7 separate regions of the Homo sapiens genome follow, and all the other regions are linked to region 3. Evidence: promoter capture Hi-C in 16 types of primary human blood cells and fetal thymus (Javierre and others, 2016). All regions are on one chromosome and are shown on one strand. Each heading gives the region's core, a stretch centred on a gene start or on the middle of the fragment in contact. The rest is flanking DNA. Distances are from core to core; before and after follow the strand shown.

Region 1 (3,719 bases), core at 894-3,393, 370 kb before region 3:
GTTGAGGCTTGGAAGCCATCGCCTAGATTTCAGAGGATGTATGGAAATGCCTGGACGTCCAGGCAGAAGTCTGCTGCAGAGGCAGAGCCCTCATGGAGAACCTCTACTAGGACAGTGCAGAGAAGAAATGTGAGGTTGGAGACCCCACACAGAGACCCCACTGGGGCACTGCCTAGTGGAGCTGTGAGAAGAGAGCCACCATCCTATAGACCCCAGAATAGTAGATCCAGCGTTGAAGCCACAGGCACTCAATGCCAGCTAATGAAAGCAACCAAGGGGGCTATACCTTTCAGAGCCACGGAGGTAGAGCTGCCCAAGTCCTTGGGAGCCCACCCCTTGCATTAGTGTGCCCTGGATATAAGACATGAAGTCAAAGGAGATTATTTCGGAGCTTTAAGGTTTAATGACTGTCCTTCTGTGTTTTGGACTTGCATGGGGCCTGTAGCCCCTTTGTTTTGGCCAATTTCTCCCATTTGGAATGAGAGCATTTACCAAATCCCTGTACTTCCATTGTATCCTGGAAGCAACTAAATTGTTTTTGATTTTCAGGCTCATAGGCATAAGGGACTTGGCTTATCTCAGGTGAGACTTTGGACCTGAATTTTGGGTTAATGCTGGAATGAGTTAAGACTTTGTGGGACTATTGGGAAGCATAATTGGTTTTGAAATGTGAGAAGGACATGAGATTTGGGGGTGGGGATCAAGGGCAGAACGATATGGGTTAGCTCTGTGTTCCCACCCAAATCTCATGTCAAATTAGAATCCCCAGTGTTGGGGGAGGGGCCTGCTGGGAGGTGATTGGATCATGGGGCTGGATTTCCTCCTTGTTGTTCTCATGATAGTGGGTGAGTTCTCATGAGATCTGATGGTTTAAAAGTATGACACTTCCCCCCTTTCTCTCCTGCTCTGCCATAGGAAGATGTGCCTTGCTTCCCCTTCATCTTCCACCATGATTGTAAGTTTCCTGAAACCTCCCAGTCATGCTTTCTATACAGCCTGTGGAACTGTGAGTCAATTAAACCTCCTTTCTTCATAAATTACCCAGTCTCAGGTATTTCTTTAAAACAGTGTGAGAATTGACTAATAGCGTGTTTCCTTGGGATCAGATGATCAGGAACATAGGGAGTCATCAGACTTACTGAGAGAATGAAAAGAGGAAATGTTTCACCTATCTCCACATAAAGTGGAAGGAAGAGAATGTTTCACACATAGTAGATAGAAGGATAGACTGGGTGGGTGGCCTGCATGACCAATAACACATCAGATTAATTTGTTTTATAATCAGCAACTTCTAGTATATACTAATCAACTTTGATCACTAGAAGTGTTGATAAAAATAGTCTTGAGTTCAATTGAGTTCCAATATTCAGATTCACAAACTTTTTTCAGCATCTACTATGTGCCATGTGTGAGGCCTGGAAAAACACAAATAATTATGAAATAGTTACCACCTTCAAGAAGCAAATAATTACAAAATGGTTCCCATCTTCAAGGAGCATAGTCACAGGACAAAATTAATTTGAATATGATATGTATATCCTATGATAAGTATACATTATCTTATATAATCACAGAAGATTTATTTTCCTGTCTTGGGCAATCAAAAAAAGCTTCAGGAAAAGATATCTCCTAGGAAGAGATTTTTCTATTCTTCTGTGGTGGAGATTCCTATTTTCATCATATCCTTTCACCATGAAAGTTAGGTTTCTAAGATAAGCAACATAACTTTCCTGAAGTTTTGTCTCAGAGCTATTAAAATAGAGATGTTGAAAGAGTCAACAAAGCTGTAATGTGAATGTGAAGATCTACGGAAAACTGATGTTAGATTGTGAACTCCTGACATAAAATAATTTGGAGGATGACTACTAGACATCATTTCAAGCTGTGGTGACCTTATAAACTTATTGCCCAAATTAAGACACTCTGAGAGTAATTGAGGGACACTATTAATAATTCCTAGGCTACAAATATAAACTGAGACTAACCTGAGTGAGCTGGTAATAGGGTCACTCTAGTGTAAGGCCATATTTCCAGTCATCTGGGAAATAGTAAAGACTTCTAACAACATACTTTGTAATGACCACTGGTCTTCCATATCACATTGAGGTTAAACTGCTTGTGAGGGATTTTTGAATAATATTCTGAAACATAAGATTAATTTTTGGCCTTGAAATTAAGCAACTTTTAAATGTTAAGTGCTATTGTCTGAATGTTTTTCAGAATTCATATGTTGAAACTTAATCCCCATGGTGGTGTTGTTATGAGGTGGGGACTTTAGGAAGATGATTAGTCATTCCGGCTCTCCTCTCATAAACAGATTAGTGCCTTATAGAAGATCTGGAGGGAAGTGGCTTAGGGTCTTTTTGCCTTTTTGGCCCTGCAAATATGTGAGGACACAGCAAGAAGGCCCTCACCAGACACTGAATGCTGGTGCCTTTATCTTGAACTGCCCAGCCTCCAGAACTGTAAGAAATAAATTTCTATTGTTTATAAATTACCCAGTCTGTCGTATTTTGTTATTAGCAGCACAAATGGACTAAAACGATGAGACTAAGATCACATCTGAATGGACCATTACTTAGAACAGGATGTGACCAGAGAGGAGGGTCCAGGAGAGCACTCAGCACAGCCACAGGGGACAGGCACTGGGGAAACTGAATCAGCCACTAATGCCAACAAAGCTTCCTGATCTACAGCACTCCTAAATCTTAGCTCATGTAAATACTCACCAGTGGCTGAGAGAGAAAGAGGAGGAGGAGCACAGGTAAAATCGGAGGCTATCTCAATTGGTAGGCAGAGACAATTGAAAAAGAATACAGGATAGGTAAGACTCAACAAGTCAGGTCAGGAATCCAATATCTAGATGGTATTAAAGCCGAGCCACAGCCTTGAATTCTGCCTGGAGAGACCTAAATCACAAATTCAATTAGTGGTACTGTGGCACTGGGGGAATGCAATAGTCTTAAATACAATGTTGACTTTGCACACATTTTAAAATATGTATTTATAACAATGAGACATTTCAAATAATAGTGATAGTGGCTAGTGTGCATTGAATAATGTTTCAGTGACTGTTCTAAGTGCTTCACATCTTAAATGCTGTAAACTATTATCCTCATTTTGCACTTGAGAGACTGAAGTATTGAGATATGAGCTGTGAAGTCTTGGAGGACACGGGAAGCAATGCATTTACCATTGTTGCAATTTTGTCACTTAAAAGGTAGACTTGGACAGACAAGAAATACAGCTCTTTTAAGGCAATGCCATTTACTTAAGAAGCACATAATGAAGGATTTGAGATTATCCTAGAGAGTGTCTCAAAGGGTAATATTTTTTAAATTTTTCCAACAATAGTGAGAATTTCCTGTTCACTTACACAATGCTAAGTTTGGTGCATTATTATAAATGCCCACTTTAATTAATACAATAGTACAATGTAGTTCACCTAGAATTAATGGATGAGGTAGGAAGCAAACTTGCTCCTATTTCTCAAAGAGGTGTGGAGAGAGACAGAAGTTAGGGAAAACTTTCTAATAAAAAATCAGCTGTTGAAATCAAAGAAGCTTTAGCATGAACCAAATTGCTAAGAACCAATGGCAAATTAGAAGAGGTTAACTAGGTGCTGGGATCCTAAAAAGAGATCTACCATCCAGAAACTCAGACTGGAATTTGATAACCTTCTGAGAAACATCAGATTATTGTTAAAGCACGTTCCAATA
Region 2 (3,714 bases), core at 533-3,032, 470 kb after region 3:
TGGATTTCTCTTACTATGATAGGGACTAGGGTGGCGTGCTTCTTGACTAATTAGCCCTAAAGCTCACCACCAATTGTATAGCGTCTTTGTGTATTGTAGCTGAAAATTTAAGTTAGAAATTTAAGATTGGTTGTTGGCTGGCCAATGAATTGACTGGCCTTGGGCCAGGTTTCCACCTTGACAGAACTGTGGTGGTGCAAAGATGAACACCTTTCCAGGTTCTTTTACCCTTCCTTATGAAGCCCTATGTGATTAGTTCCCTAGTTACTTCTCTGGCCTCTTATCTACTCTCTTTCCCCTCCTTCATTCTGCCTCATTTGTCCTGGTTTCTTTGCTATTCTTCAGACGTATCAGGCATGTTCCCATCCTAGGGACTTTGCTGTTCTTCAGATGTATCAGGCATGCTCCCATCCTAGAATGTTCTTCAGATATCTAACTAGCTAACTCCCTCACCTTCAAGTCTCCTTACATGCCACCTTCTCAAGGGCCTGCCCCGACCACCCTAGTTAAAATTGCAACCCAATCTTCCTTACCCGATTTCTTCTTTTTTAAAAATAACAACCCTCAAATTCTAATGTGTAATTTGCTAGTTTATTATGTTTGTTGTTTGTTGTCTCTCTCTCATGAAGTCAAAGATTTTTGTCGTTTTGTTGATGTATTCTAAGCACCTAGATAGAGTAGCCAGTCAATAAACATGTGTTGAATGAAGGAGCAAAAAGAGCCTGAGCCTCTTGCAGCTTTTCAGCCTTGGTGGGAATATCCAATGTCTGCATTCAGTAAATCGTATTTGTTGGGTTACTAATGAATTATTAGGTTTTAGGAATTGACACACATTATCCAAATTCAAAAGAGACTTGTTTCTAAATCACAATTCCCAAATTATTAATTTCTATGGAGAAATATGTGTTACCATGTTATCTAGACTAGCTGGTCAGGGTATTTGCCTCCCCAGAGACAAGTCTACTTGGGAAATCAAGTGTATCCAAAGGCTGCTTGTTAATTTAATGGCAAATCAGTTGATTTTAAAGGGTGGTACAGTATAGTCAATCATGAATATTCTTCATCACTTTAAAGATATACCTGATAAACAGATACTTATAATAGCAGGGCAATATTTTGTTGAACTTTGTAAAAATAACAGTTCCATCATCAGCAAACTTACAAACTTAAGGGGTGAATTCTGAAGATAGCTGATTTTTTTTTTAACCGTGTTCACCAATTCTGAGATATCATGTGGTTTGCATCTTTCTAGTGCACCAAATATGGGAGATGGTATAAATGTATTGCTTCTTTCACTTGCAAATTGGCATAGTGCGTATATACAAGGTCTTTCCCTTGAAGAATTTTTTGGGTTACCCAGGCTCAAAAGGAGTTTTGTTCATAGGAGAGAAGAAAGTGTGTTCAGGGTGTAGTACTTGAAAACATGCTAGACTTTCTTTATGAATTCCACTTCCGTAAGCTGACTTGGAATACTCAGAAAAGAAAAACATCTTGACAACTGTTGCTGGTAGAAGTGGTAGAGTAACAGGGCCACATGCACAACAGAGCATGAGCTGCTGCAGAGTCAGACAATATTTAAACTTTTAAATTTGTTTTCCAATTAAGAGATTACATTACTTTGCCATTATTCTCAGCCTAGGGGTAGATATGTTCTATCTGTTATGCTACTTGATTGTTTATTTTGCAGATCCATTGTTTATTGTGTCAAGTGAGAAAGACCATACACAGGCAAATATCCAAGCTACCCTGATTCGCAGCAGACTGGTATGTCTAATTCATCAGCCAAGGCTACCTGATGAACCTGAACCATCTAGTTTGCCTGACTGCATTGATCAGATTGACTAATCACCAAATCTTCACTGGATTTTAGGTTCCACAGAAATTACCTTGCCAAGATTACTGGAGGGCAAAGCATCTTAATACGTGTGGCTCATTGTGAGGATTAAGTCACCAATAATGAACAGAGAACCCATAAGCTAATTTATTTCAATGGGATAAATTTAATAATATATGCCCATGTTAAAAGAATTCAAGTAGTATAAAAGCATATACAGTGTGAAGTAAATTCTAGCCCTATCCCCTACCCCCTCCACATAAACAGCCATTGTCATCAGTTTCTTGGGCATGTATTTAAAGATATTTTACGCATACAGCAATAACCCCTCTTCTTATGCTGTATACATTGTTTTGTATGTTTTTAAAAAGAGTTTACAATGTAATTAAAATGCTTTAGAAAAGCTGATGGTATAATTTTGTCCTTTGCCTCCCTTCTCTAACATTAGAGAAAAGTTCCCAGGTTTAAAACCATGTTCAGTAACCTGATCCATTATCCAAGATATTCTCTATATTGGAGCAAGTCAGATCCTGTCCCACCATTTATCAGTCGGGAATGGAAGGGACATAAGGAGAAACACAGAGAAGCCCTCCGGCAGCTCACCACGTAAGTGTCGGGTGGCTCCAGGGCCTAAAATAAATGCATTAAAAGCATTTCTTTAAATTCATTTACCATGTGTGGTTTTAAAATGTTCAGTTGTGGTGTTATACCTAGGCCAAATTTTCTTTCTAAACCTCTTTTGACCAAACAAACCTGATTATATATTGTATATATGAGATATATATATATATATAATTTTGTCATATATATAATGACAACTTGCCACCAAAGGTAGGGATGATTGAGTTTGTTGTTGCTTGGATCCAACTTAGCAACTGAAAGTGCTCTGTTCTGCTAGTATCTAAAATATTTTTTGGGAACTTGGGGCCAAAGCACCTTCAAGAATAAGTCGAATTCTTTATTCTTTTAATTACTTACAAGTTCACATTTAGTAAATTAAAAATTATAAAGCCTTTTAACCTGGACATAGAAAAAGTGTCTTTTGGCCAGGCACAGTGGCTCACGCCTGTAATCCCAGCACTTTGGGAGGCCGAGGCAGGCGGATCATGAGGTCAGGAGATTGAGACCATCCTGGCTAACACGGTGAAACCCCGTCTCTACTAAAAATACAAAAAGTTAGCCGGGTGTGGTGGCAGGTGCCTGTAGTCCCAGCTACTTGGGAGGCTGAGGCAGGAGAATGGCATGAACCCAGGAGGTGGAGATTGCACCACTGCACTCCAGCCTGGGTGACAGAGCGAGACTCTGTCTCAAAAAAAAAAAAAAAAAAAATTGTCTTTTAATATTTTGCTATTCTTGTGTGCTTTTAATTAAAATTGGGCATTTTTGTATGTGGGATTTCATAAATCCACTCTTTTCTCAGCTCTTGCTCTGTCTGACTAGGTTCTGGTCTCCTGGCTCAGGGGAAGAATCATATATACTCTAAGTTGTATGGCAGTCAAATGCAGGTTATGGAAGACTTTACTCTCAGTATGAGATACTCTGTGTAGGTCCTACTCTATACACATAGAAATATTAAATAGAAATTATATGTGGAAATATTTTAGACTTGAATAATGTTTTCTTGCTTCATTTTAGAACTGACGCTTCTTTTCAGATGCCTAAAGAAGTTTATGAAGATCCTGAAGTTACTGGAAAGAATCGCTATAAATACTTTGAAAGGTAGAACATAATTACTAATGAATATTTGAGCCCTAATATTATTAGAGAACCTCTTTATGATAATAATAATAGTTATCATTTTTCAGTGCATACAACGTGCCAGACTCTATTTTAAGTGCTTTACATGCATATGATCTAATCGTTAAAACAGGAATGTAGGC
Region 3 (3,382 bases), core at 1-2,500:
TCTATCCACTTCCCCTTAGATTATGTAGTCAAACAGTTCAATCCAGGTCAGTACTTTTTCACAACGTATGTTTTCAATCTGATCAAAGCTATAGGTAGACGAAAGTTATTGCAATTTCATGGGGTTTACAATTTCCATAAAGAACAAACCTGCTCTAGAAGACAAAATTCCAAAAACTTCTGAACTATATCCAATCAAGCATTATCTCCTCTCCCAAGAGAGACCTTCCAGCACTCCCCGCCTGGGTCTCGGGAATAGCCCTCCCTTCTGAATCCCAGTTTCTCAATCCGGACCCTGAATCCTATTCATCCTGATCTCTCCTTGATTTTCTTGCATCTTAAAGGTGTTATTTTCCTTTCTTTAAAAATTTAAAAAAAAAAAAAAAAGCCACAACTCGCCTCCACGCTCAGATTACCATTTTCTTTTTCCTCCTTTTCATCACCAAACGGCTGAGGAGGTCTACCAGTACCCTCACCACCGCCACGTCCCCATCCCTCACCCACTCTGGAACACTTTGCAACAGTGTGCACACCCACCCACTGTTGATAACTACTCTCCTAAGGCTACCAACCCATAGGCCTCTCCTCGATGCAGAGTCCTTTGGACTTTGTCTGTTTTTTTTCAAACCAAGAATTAACAGCCCTTATCTAATGGAAGACAGAACATCAAGGGATACAGATCAACAAACACTGGATGGCTGTCTCCGAAGTCTTTTATAATCCAGGTGACCAACCCCTTTGGAGAAAGGTCAAAGGTCGCCGGCCCCTCGCAGGACTGGGGCTGGTGTCAGCTGATCAGTTTCCCCGTTGAAACGCTGGAGAAGGAGGGTTTCCAGGAAGAAGGGGCTTTTTCAGGTTGATGCACCCGGCGGAGAAGTGCTGGGGGCGACCCCGGAATCGTGACCTGGGGTATGAATGAGCCCTGGATTTTTTCCTACCCGGCAGCACCTCGTCTGGCTCCCCCGGCCCGCAGCAGAGGCGGCGCCGCGCGGAACGCCAGCACCTGAGCCGGTGCCTCCCGCCAGGCTCGGCCTCCGTAGGCCCCCGGCCCGGCCCACCGCTCCGGCTGAGGCGGGACTGCCCCACGGACGCCGCCACGTCATCCCCACGCCCGCCCCGCTACAGCCCTGGGACTGACCCCGGCCGTCGCCCGGCTACCCTCGCACGGCGCCCGTGTCCAGGGAACTGCATTTCCCGGGCGCCGGCGGAGCCAGCGTACTCACCCCGGAGGCGGCCGCGGCGAGCTAGCACTGCCCGCGGAGAGGGGAGAACGCGGAAAGCAGCTCGGGGACCGCCCCAGCCGCCCGGGAGGCGGCTCTTGAGTACGAGCTCCGCCTCCCGCCTTGGCCGGAGAGGCTGGTCCGCCCGGCTCTGCACGCGCCTGGCGCTCCACCCCCGCCAAATCGACCACACCGGGCGCTGGAAGGAGCACCGGGAGGGAAACGGAGGGTTGACGCCTCGGCCTCTGGGTGGCTTTAAAACCCTGTGCCAATAGTAGACTGGGTGCTGAGCGCTTCCCAAATTCCATCCCCTTAAATACTCACAAAGCAGTAGGAAAGAGATAGGGACCCTTCCATTTTACAGAGTGGGAAACTGAGACTTTAGAGAGGCTAATAAACTTAATCACCCTGCGAGATTTCAGCCCTCTCAACTGCAAAAATGATAATAATAATAATAATATTTTTCCCATGTTGCAGGTCTGAGAATATTAAATGATTTTTTTAAATCCGTATTTCTTCAAAGATATTATTACAGAAAGCAAAGACAATTATATTTACACTAAAGATTTGAGTGAAAAATTATGGTAGGCTCTGTTTAGGCAGTCAGGATAGCTAGATTCTCTAATGCAGTCTCCCACTGCACTCACGGGAAAGTAGTAGATTCTCCAAGAACCACACATCCACTCCACCCAAAAAGGAACAAACCATAGCTAGAGCCAGTGCTGGGCTCATTAAGCTTCATAGCAGGAAATCTGAGGCTATACTGAGGCCGCATAGGCCCAATGTAGGCCCTTGGAAGCTGGAAAAGAGGGCCACCTAGTGGCAGTTGAGGATAGGTCAGTGAAATAGGTCAACACTGCTCCTGAACAAGGTCCAGTGTGAAACTTATTTTTTTGTGTTCCCTTTGTAACATGCTGTAAGGGTGTATAACCACATTTAGTGAAAAAGGACATTACTGGATTTCATCCAGTGGCGTTATACAATCAGTTACTTATACCCACATAGTCCCCAGGTCTTGAGCATATGATGCCTGGAAGCATAATATATACCTTTTGCAAGAATCACTCAGCTTTTCCCCTCCCCCTCCCCCTCTCTGTCTCCCTCCCCATCTCCCTCCCCCCTTTGCACGGTCCTCGTCTCCCCTTTGCATGGTCTCCCTCTGATGCCGAGCCGAGGCTGGACTGTACTGCCGCCATCTCGGCTCACGGCAGCCTCCCTGCCTGATTCCCCTGCCTCAGCCTGCCGAGTGCCTGGGATTGCAGGCGCGCACCGCCACACCTGACTGGTTTTCGTATTTTTTGGTGGAGACGGGGTTTCGCCGAGTTGGCCGGGCTGGTCTCCAGCTCCTGACCGCGAGTGGTCTGCCAGCCTCGGCCTCCCGAGGTGCCGGGATTGCAGACGGAGTCTCGCTCACTCAGTGCTCAATGTTGCCCAGGCTGGAGTGCAGTGGCTTGATCTCGGATCGCTACAACCTCCACCTCCCAGCCGCCTGCCTTGGCCTCCCAAAGTGCCGAGATTGCAGCCTCTGCCCTGCTGCCACGCCGTATAGGAAGTGAGGAGCGTCTCTGCCTGGCCGCCCATCATCTGGGATGTGGGGAGCCCCTCTGCCCAGCCGCCCAGTCTGGAAAGTGAGGAGCGCTTCTTCCCGGCCGCCACCCCGTCTAGGAAGTGAGGAGCGTCTCTGCCTGGCCGCCCATCATCTGGGATGTGGGGAGCGCCTCTGCCCCACCACCCCGTCTGAGAGGTGAAGAATGCCTCTGCCCGGCGGCGACCCGTCTAGGAACTGAGGAGTGTCTCTGCCCCGCCGCCACCCCGTCTGGGAGGTGAGGAGCGTCTCTGACTGGCCGCCCTGTCTGAGAAGTGAGGAGCCCCTCCGCCGGGCAGCTGCCTGGTCCGGGAGGTGGGGGGCAGCCGCCCAGCCAGCCGCCCCGCCCGGGAGGTGGGGGGGCAGCCCCCGCCTGGCCAGCCGCCCCGCCCGGCAAGTGGGGGGCAGCCCCCGCCCGGCCAGCCGCCCCGTCCGGGAGGTGGGGGGCGCCTCTGCCCAGCCGCCGCCCCGTCTGGGAGGTGGGGGCCCCTCTGCCCGGCCGCCGCCCCGTCTGGGAGGTGGGGGGCCCCTCTGCCCGGCAGCCCCGTCTGGGAAGTGAGGAGCCCCTCTGCCCGGCC
Region 4 (3,281 bases), core at 475-2,974, 350 kb before region 3:
TCAATGCATTGTTAATGAAGAGTTTCCTCTATAAAACTCTAGAGTTATGTGGAGACTCAAGACTTGCTTATGACTTCTCGCTGTGGGGAGGTGTGGGCTGAGTTTACACAATGGGGGCTTTCAGCCCCATTTACTTCAGAAGAGCTTTGCCCAAGAAGCCTGATGAGAGAATTGCCCTTTTCCCCTCCTTTCCAAAATGTCAGCCCGGATTGTTTCAAGAACTAGGGAGAGCAGTGTACTGATCTAAATCATTGAAATATTCCTTGAAAATTTAAAATTACCAGAAATGCACCGTTTCTTTTTCTTCTGAAAGCACAAACATTAGAAAATACTATATAGCAATTAGGAGCCAGGTTGCCTATATTTGAATCCAGGTCCCAGGTCTTCCCATATAAACTTAGGCTAGTTACTTATCACTTGTACCTCGGTGTTATTATCTGCAAAATGGGATAGTGTTTGTACCTATCTCATACAGTGGTTGTGAGGATTAAAATGATTTAATAGATGTAAAATGCTTAGAGCAGCACCTGACACATAGTTTCCTGTTACTCGATACTATTCAGAAGAGGAGAGCTCCAAGCTGGATCCACCCATGAAGCTGCTGGAAACAAGTCTGCTTAATAACAGATATTGTAAATACTGGACCACAGGCCACACAGACCCACAGGAATGTATAATTAAGCAGGATTTAACTTAAAAAAATTCATTGCCGACATATACAATCCAAGAGAGATACAAATAAGCATTTCTGGCTTCTCTTGAAGATTCAAGAGACCTGGCCATCCTGGACCCAAGTCCTACTGACCACTCTTGGTGGGAGCTGAGTAGCTGCTAACCTCTTTAGGCAGGGCATAAATCTCCAAGTCACCATGCTCCCCATCTGGCCCAGTTCTCTCATTTACTTTACCTTCACAGGCATTTCAGGTTGTGATCTCTATACTAAAGGGATTGGGGCTCAGAAATCACAGCCTCGCCTCTACTTACATCATAATACAGGATCAGCACTGTGAAGTTGGAGGGGTGAACACACCTTGATCTCTGGATGACTGAGAGAGGGGAGGTGAAGAAAAGAGTTACAACCTGGTTGTATGTGAGACTCAGGTCTTCTCTAATCTCTCCAGTAGAACTTCCGTTTTTCTCCTTATAAAATTCAAATACATGACTTAAAAAGTAAACCAGTAACAGCTACAATTTATCTATACCATTTTATATACATTATCTAATGGTATCCTCAGACCTATGATGTAGCAATTATAATCTCCATGTTATATCCCCAGAGAGGCTAAACAGCTTGCCTCAAGTCAGTAGGAAGTGACGGAGCTGGGACTCAAGTGCAGGCCCAGGGTAGCAAAAGGCATCCTTCTACGTAGAATTTCCTCCAAATTCACCATGTCTTCAAAGACCTCTGTGTTCCCCTCAAAACTTCTCGCCTACGGGAATTTCCTCAAACGCATCCTCCCCTAGCAATAGCTCTGACTGTAGAGCTGAAGGTGGTAAGGGAACTAGTGTTTTACACAAATTGCAAATGCCCTAGGAAAGTGATGAGAAAGAATTAAACGGCTGTGAGACCCCCCCGAGTGTGCAGAAATTAAGAGGAGAAAAACTCAAAAAGCTTGACCGCATGGAAAAAATTATTCTAATAGTCTTATAAGTCAGAGATGGTAATTTTATTAAATAATTTTTTTAATGGGCAAAGAATGACTAGAAAGAATAAAGAACTCTTGTCTATGCCAGGCCAAATTTGAGGCAGTACCAAGACCTTTACTATTTATTGGCTATCTTAATGGAAGGACAGTATATGGCAACAGATGAGCAATGCCCTTGGCTCTACATCTTACAAGCTTTATGACCTTGAGCAAGGTACTTAACCCATGAAAGCCTGTTCCTTCATCTGTAAAATTAGCATAATACAGTACTAAAATTGAAAGTGTTGAGGATTCTATGGGATATACACAAAGTGTCCAGTATGCTGTCTAGCATACAGTAGGTGCTCTATAAATGCTGATGTTCTCCCACCCTCTTAATTATCCTCAGCGATTTGAAATTGATAGTAATCAGAAGATAAGTGTGTTATTTTGGAACAAAATGTGAGGAAAAGGGAAATAGGAGAAAGTATTTGGGTAGACAATAATTACCGAGGCTTCTCCTTTCTCTTAAACAAAAAAATGTCCCAAATTGCTATTTTATATGCAGTAGCACTCAAATAGTACTTCTGGCAAAAAGAGTTGAAATACTGAGTAGGTGTAAATGACATAGCTATTGCCTAGAAATTTAAAGCTTCTGAACTACTACGAATAATGGCAAATATCAAGTGTTTACTATCACCAGACACCATGATATTCATCTTATGTGCATTATTTCATTTAGTACTCACAATCTCAAAGATAACTATTATATTGTTTCTATTTTGTAGATGAAACTGAGCCTTAGAGAATTTTGTAGTTTGTCCAATGTAATGGACAACTGAAGCTCATTCATATATATATATATACACACACACATACATATATATATATATATAGGCATACAATCTTGTCCAAGCCTCAAATGCAAAACTGCTGCAAATCTGATAAACTGAGGGAGCAACTGATGGATGATAGAGAAATATGGCTTCAATGTAAGTTATAATAAGCTAAATTATCTATTCTAATCTGACCTCCTAAAATTAATCAGGTATCAACTGACCTCACTGTGTTAAATACATAGTAGGCACTATACTTATTGCTTTGTTTAATAAACTTGTCTCTATCATTAATGTCTTATGATTAAGTCAGAATTTTGTGCCTTGCCTTTACCTAAAATAGGGAAATAATACCTTCTTCACAAGGAAGCTGTGAGGAAAAGCTATAAATAGCTGTATACACATAGAATTTACAAGTCAACTTTTCTCTGAATTGCATTTATTGTCTCAGCATTTTTTCTGTGAAGTTGAATATCATCTTACTTAACACAAGTGATTTGTCCAAAAGAGGGCTATTTGAAGGCAAAACGACGAGGATCCCAGATCTTTCTTTTTAGACATTGGTTCAGTCAGACAGAAATATCTACTGAGAAAAGCAACTGACAGATTACTGAATAGTCTGGGAAAAATGTTTAACCACCTCAGTTTCTGAACTTGTAAAATATGAGTGATGATAGCGTCCATGTAGAAGTGTGATAAAATTAAATAAATTAGTACTTGAAATGCATTTTTTCATGTACTGCCATGTAATAAGCATAACAGATATTTTCACACAAAACCCTTCATAATTACTTAAGATTCTTCCAAACCACTGCATTAA
Region 5 (3,153 bases), core at 654-3,153, 310 kb before region 3:
AACCATAAACTAAGCCCATGGCTTGAAGTTTCATGCTGGGGAATACAGATGGTAGAGTTTAAGTCTAATTTATGATTTATTTGTAATGCTAATGACTTTTCAGTAAATATGTTCACCCTTTCCAAAATGAATAAATGAATGAATGAAAAAATGAATGCAGAGTATACACAGGAATCAGGAAAAAAAAAAGTGGGTAGGGGAAGAGAGAACAATAAAAGGATATAGGTAGGAAGAGTAAAAATCTTAGAGAATCCTAACTACTGCGGTGGGGCAAACTAATCTTTGTTTGCCTTTGTCATTGCCACTGTGATGCCAGGAAGAGAAACCCAAAATAATTCTTTGGAGGTAGCATTAATTATAAAATAAATTAAGGGCTTTTTATCTTCTTTTTAAAAATGATGCTGAGAAGTTAAGTCTGGACAAACAAAAAAGAAATAAGGTTGGATAATATGGGAAGCCAGTCACCTAACTTACAGGTCTAAGTATCAGAATATTTAATTCCATTAGTACACTATACTCGGTACTCAGAGTATTTTATAATCTATACAATTTTTAATATAATACAATGAATATGGTTTTGAGAATAGAAATCCCCGACTTGGTCATCAGTTTTTTTATTCTGTTTGAAGGCTGGGAGAAAAAGGCACCAAAGGCCGAGGGAAAATGACAAGAATTCCCAACACCTGTATTCTTAAGTGACTCAACAACAACGAAGGAAAAAGAAAGCGGGGGTGGAGTTTGACAAGGACTGCGGGAGTAGATTCTGAGACTTGAGTAGGATGGAGGAGAATCAAGAACATCAACCTTCTCAAAACGTCTTCCATCTCCCCAGATGAACTGAGTTTAGCCACCTCTACCACAAGTATTCATTTAGAAAGCAGTATTTTATATTAGAGACAGAAGAATTGAAAAATAAAACATGCTTATAATGGATATTAGTGTGAGACAGTCTAACAACATGGTGTAATGGAAAGAGTGCTGGTTTGAGTAAGGAGATCTAAATTTTAATCTAAACGTTGTTGTTTATTTTCTATGCAATCTGGGGAAAAAAAACCTAAATCTATTTGGTCTCAGTATTAAGGTGATAATATGATTTATTCTTCAAACAAGGATACTTGGGGGAGTAAAAGGAGGTATTATTACAATTATGCCAGGACAACACGTGCAAGCCAAGAACTGTGGTGATCCTACTCGGTGTTACACAGATATGAAGTAATAGTATTATTCTCACACATGCTAAAACTTCTGCTCTGTACTAAAATAAGTCATTCTTGATTTAATTTGCTCTCAACAATAAGTTCTGTACTGTAGAAGCTTAAGAAAAGTGAGAGACCACTTCTGATGGTATTTGATACCATCTTTCTTCACCTTCAGAAGAAAGTCATTAAATAAGTAAGTTTTAGAGACCGCCGGAAATGAAGAAAGGAGGGGGAGACTATCTGTAAGAAGCATGGAGAAGGAGAGAAGAGATGGAACTGAGAGAAGACAGAAAAAGAACATAAGCAGACTGAAGGTGTAGAAACAAGGGCAGAAGCAAGTATGCTTGAGAGTAGCTTCGTGAGTAAAGCCCGAACAGCCAAGGACTCTTGTGTCACTCACCTAACACTGTGAGACCGGTGACCCCAATGTTCCTGCCCCCTATGTCTGGAAGGTTGTTGACCAGGCACTGGTAGGTGCCAGTGTCTGATAACTGAGTGTTATTAATGAAGATAGAGACATTGGTAGCTGGCATGGTGCCTGTAAATCCTACCCTACCGTGGAACCGGGGGGCACCATCAAACATCTGTCCACCCTGATACAGGATGACCTGGAAAAGAAAGCAAAATAAATAAACTGGCCACTCTATCCTCTCCTAGACACAAAACAATAACTATTTGGTAGACAGTACCAAATGCTGCACCAAACATTGGAAAATTTTATTTCTAATATGATAATTATCATCAACTTTTTTTTTACAGTATTTGTTCATAGGTATCTTGGGGTTTTAAATTCTCACATAACAAATTAGAATAATATTTTTTCCTTACCTAACACATCAGAACATAAAAAAAGTCTTTGCTGCTGCCCACCCTACTATCAGTTCATAAATATTCTTACCAGTTCAAAAAACTGATTCCAAAACAAAAATTAAAAAATATTAGCACTGCCATTCTCATGCTTATTAGGTCACACAATGATAGATCATAGGTACAGACTGAATGTAAATAAATGTCACAGAAGGGAAGTAGAGTTACAAGTCCATGATTACTGTTCTTATGTCAGCCTCTACTATCAAAGTTAAGTCTTCATGGAAGACTTAGAATGACATAACAAAAAGCCCTTTGGGCTGCGAGTGAGGGACTCAGTTCTATTCAAGCTCTACCTGTAAATGTGTTTAGTAACTCTACTCAAGCTCTTTACTTAAACTCCATCCTTGATTCCTAAAATAATAAGGTTGAACAAAATGATCTTGAAGGCGGAGTCTAACTACAAAAATTCTATGAAGAAACAAAAGAAGCTTCTATTTAATTTCATATCAGAAAATTTAGCTTATCAAATATTTTGAGGTAATAATAATCTTACTGAAGGAGAAAAGCTCCATTAACATTGTAAATAAAGGTGTAATCATTATCACAATTCATTAACTTCCTGAGCATTATTTTCTGCAGTGAGTTCTACAAATTATGTGTCTTTTTCCTGTAATTGATACAGCTTACTGGGGAGTAGCTTCCATTTTCATGTACATTCTTTCACGTACACATTCTATTAATAATTTATATGAGACTCTTTGAGCTCACTAACATGGCTAGTCATGTTTTACTTTAAAATACTAGTGAAATTAACTTAAAAAAAATCAAGTACTACAACCTAATGTTACTTCCTTACTATTATCACTATCTTTTAAAAGTATGCTCTCAACAATCTGTGATGGTGCCAGTCCCTTCTGGTCAAAATTGCCTATTAGCAATGTTGTTGATAAAATTACAGGTTCCTACATAAACCTCTCAGAAGGATATTCTTAACATCTGTTACCTTTTTAAAAAGAGGATAGCCTCTTCTGATAAGTGACTGATAGGGCAGAGGAGTAGGCCTTAAAAGAGTACACGCACATTGACAATGCCACCTTATTCTCGAAACCAAAGATGTACTCATGATGCTTCCCTACCAACCTCC
Region 6 (3,372 bases), core at 370-2,869, 340 kb after region 3:
CATAGCTAAAAGTCATGTAGCTAGACGATACATAACTAAATTCCACTTGCCTCCTTATAGATAACTTCTCTGATAGGACACCATGGAAAATATTGCTTAAGTTATTTTTCAGGAACTTAGAGTCAGTTCTTGTCCAGTTCAAGCCACCAGCCCTTCATCTTGGCCTGCGTGAGTGTCCAATGGGTGACCTTTTGACATCAGAAGGCCCAAAACTCCACTCTCAGATCATGCTAACGTCACGATTTTGTGAACATGTGTTCTATGAACAGCCATGAAGATTGACTATGCTTGCTCAGATTACCGATTGCCTCACTTTTCCTTACCTCATCTTTCTCTGAACCTTGGACCACCTTCCTCCCCTATCCCATAAGCACTCCTAAAATTCCATCTTTGGAAAGGCACATTTGAGGCCTGTTCTCCAGTCTCCTGTCTTGGCTGCCTTGTGAATACACCCTTTCTCTACTGCAAAACTTGTGCGCCTCAGTGATTGGCATACTGTGTGAAAGACAAATGAGCCTGGTTCCCTGACAGGAGCTGAGCTGTCTCTTCCTGCATGCAGCCAGCAATAAAGATTCCTCTAGGAGAGGTATGTTCTCCACGCCAGAGCGAGAAAATAGCTCTCATCACCAGAGATTTGGAACTGGAGGTGGCATTTGGACTGGAGTAAACATTCTTGCAAAGTAACCATTATCTTCCACCTGTTTTACACCCCACCCCCCATATATCTCCTAGGGGCTCCCCTAGAAATTTTTTACCACCCTAGCCGGATTTTCTTTGTCCTGTCACTTCTTCTTAAATTTATCACTCTTTTTCTAAAAAGTATAAAAGCATCTTGCTTTGGACACTTTCTTCAGGATTCAGTCTCTTAACATCCCCATGTACATGTAAAATTAATAAAATTTGTATACTTTTCTCTTGTTAATCTGCCTAGTGTCAATTTGGCTTCTAGATGCAGCTGATTAGCTCACTAAGAGCTAGAGGGTGTAGGGGGTTGGAGGTGATCTCTGCCTCCCTTATTGGTGAACTTGATTTTTGTAAACACTCAAAAGTCACTTAGGCTAGAGTTGGAGATGGAGATGGTTATTCACTGGGAAGGCCACAAGAGAATGTTTTAAAGTGATGGAAATATTTCATATCTCGATTATGGTGTAAGGACATTTCATTATATATAAATTATATATCAATTTTTTAAAAAGCTCTCAGACCAAGGCTAGTCATTACAGCAAGAAAATAGGCATAGCAAATTTAAAACTTTGGAGAAATATATAGAATATTTGCATATGGTGATTCTGATTTGCTTTAAAAGTGACATGATTAATGTATTTAGACAAAAATACTCTTCGTTTTTCTTTGCTTTTATTTACGATCAGGATACAAGAATTCTACGCTGCTGCCAAATAAATGACTAGTTAAAATTAACTAACTGAATCCTTAACAACCATTCTAAGAGGCAGATATTATTATCCCACTTTATGCGTGAGGGCCCAGAACCCTGGCAAGGGCGGCACACTCAGTACGCTCTTCAAGCATCTGGGCACACCCGGTCCACTACAGTCCTACAAAGTCGGACGTGAGCACGGGCGAAGGCGTCAGCCGGGGCCACACGGGAGTCACTGACCACAGCCAGGCGAGAGCCGGCTTTCCGGTGCCGCCACATTCCGGGCACCAGGCTCCGGGCTCTTCAGAGCATTTGGGGCGGGCGACGGAGGTCCCGTCCACTCTCGCTTGGGTGCAGAAGGGCGCGGCGGTGCCAGGAAGCCGCCTTGGAGGCTCCAAGATTAGCTCACTCAGCGCGGCCAAGCGCAGGTGCGGGGGCCCTCGCCGCCACCCTGCTTATCTGGGGACAGTCCCGGAACCCGGTGACCCGGCTCCGCCCCAACCCGCGCCCTCGTCCACCCGCAGCAGCCAAGGCCTCTTCCCCGGCCCCGGGAGCCCGCGCCACGCCCGTCGCTCGCGCGTTCCAGTCCAGGCTACAGCAGGTATCGCGATCCCGGCCCTCGGCCCCGCGCTCCCCTCCCCCGCCCCTGGCGCTCTCCGAGTGTGGCCGACCATGAGGATTCCCAGTCTTGCAAATCGTGGGAGCGTGTCAACCGCCCCGTTTCTTTCCAAAGCCGGGCATGGCCCGGAAGCAGCTGATCAGATCTTAGTTCTGAATGTATAGTTCGGGTACGAGAATGTGACCCGTGAAAGTTCAGAGGAGTTAAGTAATTACAGCGTTCTGAAAGCGAACGTTAAAGGGAATTTACAACCGAAAAAAGATGCCGGTCTTCTTCCCCCATCCCAGCTTGCAATTCACAGAAGCACACATTAGGGTGGAGCCAGAAGGAATTACGGAAAGGACAATGAGGACATTGAGAGGGAGGGTATGGGGGGTTAAAGTTAGTCCTCCGAGGCCAAGAAGCAGAGTGTCTTGGCCTAGTGTCTGAAAATCGCAGCGCAGGACGGAACTTCCGAGAGCCTATACCTCCCCACTTCCCCCTCCAGTTTACAGATGGGCAAACCGCTGTCCCGGGTGTCTGTCAGGTCTAGTAGCCCAGAATCTCAGTGCCTAGGCTTCACTGTAAATAATAAACTATGTAAATAACATTTACAAATATCCTTTGTGAGCTCAGAAACTCAGCATTACCAGTAACTGGGTAGTGGAACGCATCCATCTTCGTCGTTTACTCCTTCTCCAGGGGCTCTCCAGCCTGCATTCCATGGCCAACAGCAGTGCAGCTGCAGAAGCACTTCTGGAAGCCTCCTGACTTGAACTAGACCTTGGGTAAATAGGGTTTAGATAAGTGGAGGGGAGGGAAAAGTTTCACCTGAGGGGAGAATGAGCTAGTCTGCCAGACCCTTATAAAAGTATTGGCCTGGATGGGATGGAGGGCTTTGACCTGAAAGCCACAGGGAGAAGGGAACCCTGAGGAATTGGCTGAAAGAGGGGGGTTCTTAGGAAATGCACCAACAGGGAAGCCAGCGCTTTACCAGGGATTTCATTCATGGTGGGTATATTATTAATAGAGATTCGAATTCTCTAGAAGCTGATCATTTCTAAGAGAAACAATATTTAAACATTACTGTCGAAGGAAAGGTTGTGGGGAGAAAATGTTCTAGTTCTAAAACAGAACACCCATTTTCCCTGGTTGTATATGAATAATACAAATATGTCAAAAATCAAGCTTACTATGTGCCAAGCACTCTAAGAACTTTTTTTTTTTTTTTTTTTTTGAGACAGAGTCTTGGTCTGTCGCCCAGGCTGGAGTGCAGTGGCACAATCTCGGCTCACTGCAACCTCTGCCTCCTGGGTTCAAGCGATTCTCCTGCCTCAGCCTCCTGAGTAGCTGGGACTACAGGCATGCACCACCATACCCGGCTAATTTTTGTATT
Region 7 (3,636 bases), core at 286-2,785, 360 kb after region 3:
TGTAATCCTCTCTTTCCTGCCCATTCTCTTTCACAGGTATCAGATGTTCACCACCATCTAAAGGCGCTTCCTGGCTTCTCTAGTACCTCTTATTCTTTACAGGTGTTAGCTCGATAAATCTCTTGCATATCTTGTCTTACCTTGGCATCTTCTTCTCCGAGGACCTGAACTCATACACTTGGCTTGGTCTCTAATATCAAGACAGCTTTCAGTAGTGACCTCTGCTGTGCACTACTTATTGCCACACCCCTTCCTGGTTGCAGCAGCACTTGAGCAGTGAGATCATGTGCACAAGGGGATGTAAGGGCTAGCCCCTCCAAAATAATTGTATCCTGCGTTCAGCCATGATGACATGGTCCCAGAGCCTCTTCAGGAGTTGTTGCTGTAGAGTATCGTTGCTCAGAGCATGGATTCTGGGGCTGGCTCATCCCGCTTTAAATCCCAGCTCTGCATGACCTCAGGCAAATGACTTAAATTCTCTGTGCCCTACCAGCTGTGTAAAACACAAATGTTTGTATTTAATACAAATTACTTCTATCACAGAGAAGTAATTTGTACTTATCTGTGCTTACTAACTGTGTAATTGTCACAGTTAAGTAATTTGTATACAATTATAATACAAATAAGTAATTTGTTGTACAAATTACTTAACTTCTCTGTGATAATACTCACCTCAGAGAGTTATTGTTTGGAAAAGATGATCCTGGCCCTGCCAGTGGGCTGTCTACCTCACAGCAATGTGTTATGATTTAGGGAGTGGGGGGCAAGTGCCCTGCCCTCTGCCTCTGCCCCATTGACTTGCCTAGAAATAGCTCTTTGTGGTTTCTGCCACTCTTTGGGGTGGAGAGGCCATATGGTGCTGGAACCATCTTGGTTCCAGGCCCGGCTCTGCCACTTCCACCAACGGGATCTCTACAGGTCATTTTCTTTTTCTAATATGCAGTTTCTTTGTGAATTCAGGAAGTTGAACATCTCCAAAGTTGGACTTGACTCCTAGCCCCAAGATTCTACAAAATGATAGTACTCTCCAGAGGAAACTTTTTCTTCCCTTCTTCCCTTTAAATGGACACTTAATATATAGTATTATCTCAGTCTTGTGCTAGGCACTGGGTATTCAAAAATGAAAAGAGAAAGCCTTTGCTCTCAAGTCACTCAGAATCTTCTAGGGAGACACACATGTCCACAGATAATTCCAACACAATGAGGGGTTTCTGGCCACCCAGAGATGCAGGACTTCTGCCTTGGTTATTACTAACATCCTATCACGGGAAGTGGGAGAGGTGCAGGAAATAGTTTCCTGATCATGTTTGGCTCAAAGAGGGACAGTGTGTTTCAATGCACTCTGGTTAACAAAAAAGAAAGTGTATTTATTTTCATTGAGAAGAAGAAACCGAAAACTCTGGCATTTAAATAAATAAAGAAGAATTTATTTTTCCTTTTCAGGTCATGAGGCTAGTTAATGATTAGTGAAATCCACGTGGGTGTTTTCTGAGAGGCTGGGTTATATGATCTCTTTGGCTTTAGGGAATTACTCCATACCAGCTCTGAGATTTCCAGCTCAGCGATGCCCCCAGGTCCCTGGGAGAGCTGCTTCTGGGTGGGGGGCCTCATTTTGTGGCTCAGCGTTGGAAGTTCAGGTAAGCCAGGGCTCAGGCCTTGGGAGGAACTTATTTCAGTCAGTGATCATATTTCTCCAACTACTTATGCAGTACTAACTTTTGGAAGATCCCCTAAAAGCCTTTTGCCTCTTCTGAGGTGAATTTAAAACAGTAGGGGAAAAAAACCCCTTTTATCATAATCGGAATGATGGTAAACAGGTCACAAAACCTGAACTTTCCCTGGTTATCCGACTCATTTTTCTAAAGCCCACATAAAAAAACCCTTTCTCACCTTGCACAAGCCAGGACCAACTGTAAGAAAATAAAATTTGGTTAATTCTAAGATATTCATTTTTCACCCCATAAATATCCACCATTCCAAGATATATTTAATTTTAAAATTTAGGTTTTCCAAACTAATAATGATTTTGTCACTGAGATTGTTAGATGTCCTTTCTAATCCAGCAACCTAACTCAAGTGGTTTGTCATCCTGGCTGGGTGATGGGAACTAGTCCCTGCTAACCTCAGATGCCCCTGGGAAAACTTCCCTCAGATGCCAATTTGCATTTACCTTTCCCCCAGTAAAGAACTGACCCACTGATCCCTCTTGCCTAACAGAAAATTAACCTGCTCTACTTTGGGTTCTCAGAAGTTCTCAGAAGACTCCTTCTCACTATGGTGAGGTCACCCTTAGAAAAATCCCCTCCCTCTACTCACAATAGCAGGCTGCTTTTCTGTCTTCTCCGCTGGACATTTAATTCTCATTCCCTGGCTCTAGAATATGTCATTGCTTCTGCCTGGGGTTGCTCACATCACCTTTGGATTGATTTCTGTTCTTTGCATCTTTCAAGGGGGCTTCTGTATTCCTATCTCCCTTGTACTCATTCTTTTTCTGCTCAGCACCCCTCCCTGCTACAAAGTTCCACTGGGTGACTGCATGCTCTCCTTGCACTCATGGGTGGTTTTTCAGAGGTGCTGTTGAGCTCTGTATGTGCTTTCTCCTACCTCAATTAGTTGTCCCTAAAAGGTGAGGATTTGAGGCTTCTGTCTCTTTTAGCATAGTTAGTGCTGTGCTCTGTATAGAGCAGATGTCCAGTGAATATTGCAGACATTGATGCTTAGAGGAGGCAATGGGCTGAGCTGATGGGGAATAGGCTCTGTCTGGGTCGGGCTAACCCAGACTGGAATCCTGGCTCTGTTTCTTTGTAGCTATGTGACCTTGAGGAAGTGGCTTTCTTTACCTGTAGCTAGAGATGATCCTTACCAGATAGGAATGCTGTAAGGACTGAATGGGATCATCTGTGCACAGGGCCTGACTTTTGCAGTTGCTTATTCCTTTGTGATTTTATTATTAGCAAATTGTTGTCTAGGCTGATGGAAGTGGAGGGAACAGGGCTGTCATGAGCCACCTTGGAGAGAAGGTGGGAGGTATCACCTAGGAGAGCTGTGGGTCCCGTTCTGAGAAGTGGGCTTGGCAGGCCCACTTTGTCCCTGCTCAGGAGCCCCAGGCCTCCTTAGGGGCTGGAAGGCATTTGCTAGTTGTCCTGATTTGAAGGTTGAGGAGTGGGAGGACTATAGCAAATTGGCATCAAACTCTTTTTGGAAGCTCATCTGTCGGTAAGCCTGGGGCCTCTGTCACACAGATAAGAGAAGCTCAGAAATTCTGAACCAGATAGCAGGGTTAGGGTCAGCGCAGAAGCTGATCAGGTTCCAGCCACATATGTGGGAATCATTCTAGATGCTCTGGGCAGGAAGTGGGCTTATAATAACATGTTAGCAGGGCCTGGGTATTTCCTTGCCTGGTCTTCTTGCCTTTGTTTGTCTCTGGTGTCTTTCTTTTCACACTTACCCAGTGAGGCATTCTCTATTTCCCATCCGCTTCTCTTCCTTTCCCACCTTAACTGAGTGTTTCACTGTCAACAGCAACAATATTTATTAAGTTAATGTTCCTTATTCTTACTTTTAGTAGTGCTGTCTCAGAAATTAAGTGAGTTGATGGATAGGCAGAGATAGAAGTGTGTGTGCGTGTGTGTGTGT

What was found. The method cuts DNA at HindIII sites, captures the fragments that hold promoters and counts their contacts. A CHiCAGO score of 5 or more calls a contact.
Region 1: a contact is called between a fragment that was not itself captured here and the fragment with the promoter of B4GALT4 in region 3, in 10 of 17 cell types (naive CD4 T cells, total CD4 T cells, total CD8 T cells and 7 more). The highest score is 8.8, in naive CD4 T cells.
Region 2: a contact is called between a fragment that was not itself captured here and the fragment with the promoter of B4GALT4 in region 3, in 6 of 17 cell types (naive B cells, megakaryocytes, erythroblasts and 3 more). The highest score is 6.1, in naive B cells.
Region 4: a contact is called between a fragment that was not itself captured here and the fragment with the promoter of B4GALT4 in region 3, in 12 of 17 cell types (total CD8 T cells, naive B cells, total CD4 T cells and 9 more). The highest score is 16.8, in total CD8 T cells.
Region 5: a fragment that was not itself captured here is called in contact with the fragment with the promoter of B4GALT4 in region 3 in 2 of 17 cell types (activated CD4 T cells and naive CD4 T cells); the score reaches 5.7 in activated CD4 T cells.
Region 6: a contact is called between the fragment with the promoter of ADPRH here and the fragment with the promoter of B4GALT4 in region 3, in 5 of 17 cell types (megakaryocytes, erythroblasts, total B cells and 2 more). The highest score is 5.5, in megakaryocytes.
Region 7: the fragment with the promoter of PLA1A here is called in contact with the fragment with the promoter of B4GALT4 in region 3 in 2 of 17 cell types (erythroblasts and monocytes); the score reaches 5.9 in erythroblasts.

The regions. Positions count from the first base shown.
Region 1 is chr3:118,871,418-118,875,136 of GRCh38, forward strand. No RefSeq gene overlaps it. Among named protein-coding and RNA genes, the nearest start is that of IGSF11-AS1, 70 kb to the right of the region's middle. The HindIII fragment of the contact is 1,071 bases long and covers 1,609-2,679 here.
Region 2 is chr3:119,705,122-119,708,835 of GRCh38, forward strand. CFAP91 (cilia and flagella associated protein 91) reads left to right here. Exons shown (of 18, transcript NM_033364.4): 2 at 1,688-1,764; 3 at 2,283-2,440; 4 at 3,470-3,553. Among named protein-coding and RNA genes, the nearest start is that of CFAP91, 4.0 kb to the left of the region's middle. The HindIII fragment of the contact is 4,731 bases long and covers 1-3,714 here.
Region 3 is chr3:119,239,628-119,243,009 of GRCh38, forward strand. It overlaps B4GALT4 (beta-1,4-galactosyltransferase 4), which reads right to left and starts at 1,251. Exons shown (of 8, transcript NM_003778.4): 1 at 1,223-1,251. All of the region lies in intron 3 of B4GALT4-AS1 (B4GALT4 antisense RNA 1), which reads left to right. RefSeq lists silencers at 938-1,417, 2,068-2,117. The HindIII fragment of the contact is 11,429 bases long and covers 1-1,953 here.
Region 4 is chr3:118,890,344-118,893,624 of GRCh38, forward strand. No RefSeq gene overlaps it. Among named protein-coding and RNA genes, the nearest start is that of IGSF11-AS1, 51 kb to the right of the region's middle. The HindIII fragment of the contact is 229 bases long and covers 1,611-1,839 here.
Region 5 is chr3:118,926,910-118,930,062 of GRCh38, forward strand. It overlaps IGSF11 (immunoglobulin superfamily member 11), which reads right to left. Exons shown (of 7, transcript NM_001015887.3): 3 at 1,600-1,807. Among named protein-coding and RNA genes, the nearest start is that of IGSF11-AS1, 15 kb to the right of the region's middle. The HindIII fragment of the contact is 1,183 bases long and covers 1,313-2,495 here.
Region 6 is chr3:119,577,873-119,581,244 of GRCh38, forward strand. ADPRH (ADP-ribosylarginine hydrolase) reads left to right here and starts at 1,620. Exons shown (of 5, transcript NM_001125.4): 1 at 1,620-1,979; 2 at 2,679-2,764. RefSeq lists enhancers at 1,224-1,725, 1,510-1,609, 2,550-2,769 and a silencer at 1,790-1,929. The HindIII fragment of the contact is 4,349 bases long and covers 1-3,162 here.
Region 7 is chr3:119,596,350-119,599,985 of GRCh38, forward strand. It overlaps PLA1A (phospholipase A1 member A), which reads left to right and starts at 1,536. Exons shown (of 11, transcript NM_015900.4): 1 at 1,536-1,637. The coding sequence starts at 1,565. RefSeq lists an enhancer at 2,215-2,404. The HindIII fragment of the contact is 18,763 bases long and covers 1-3,636 here.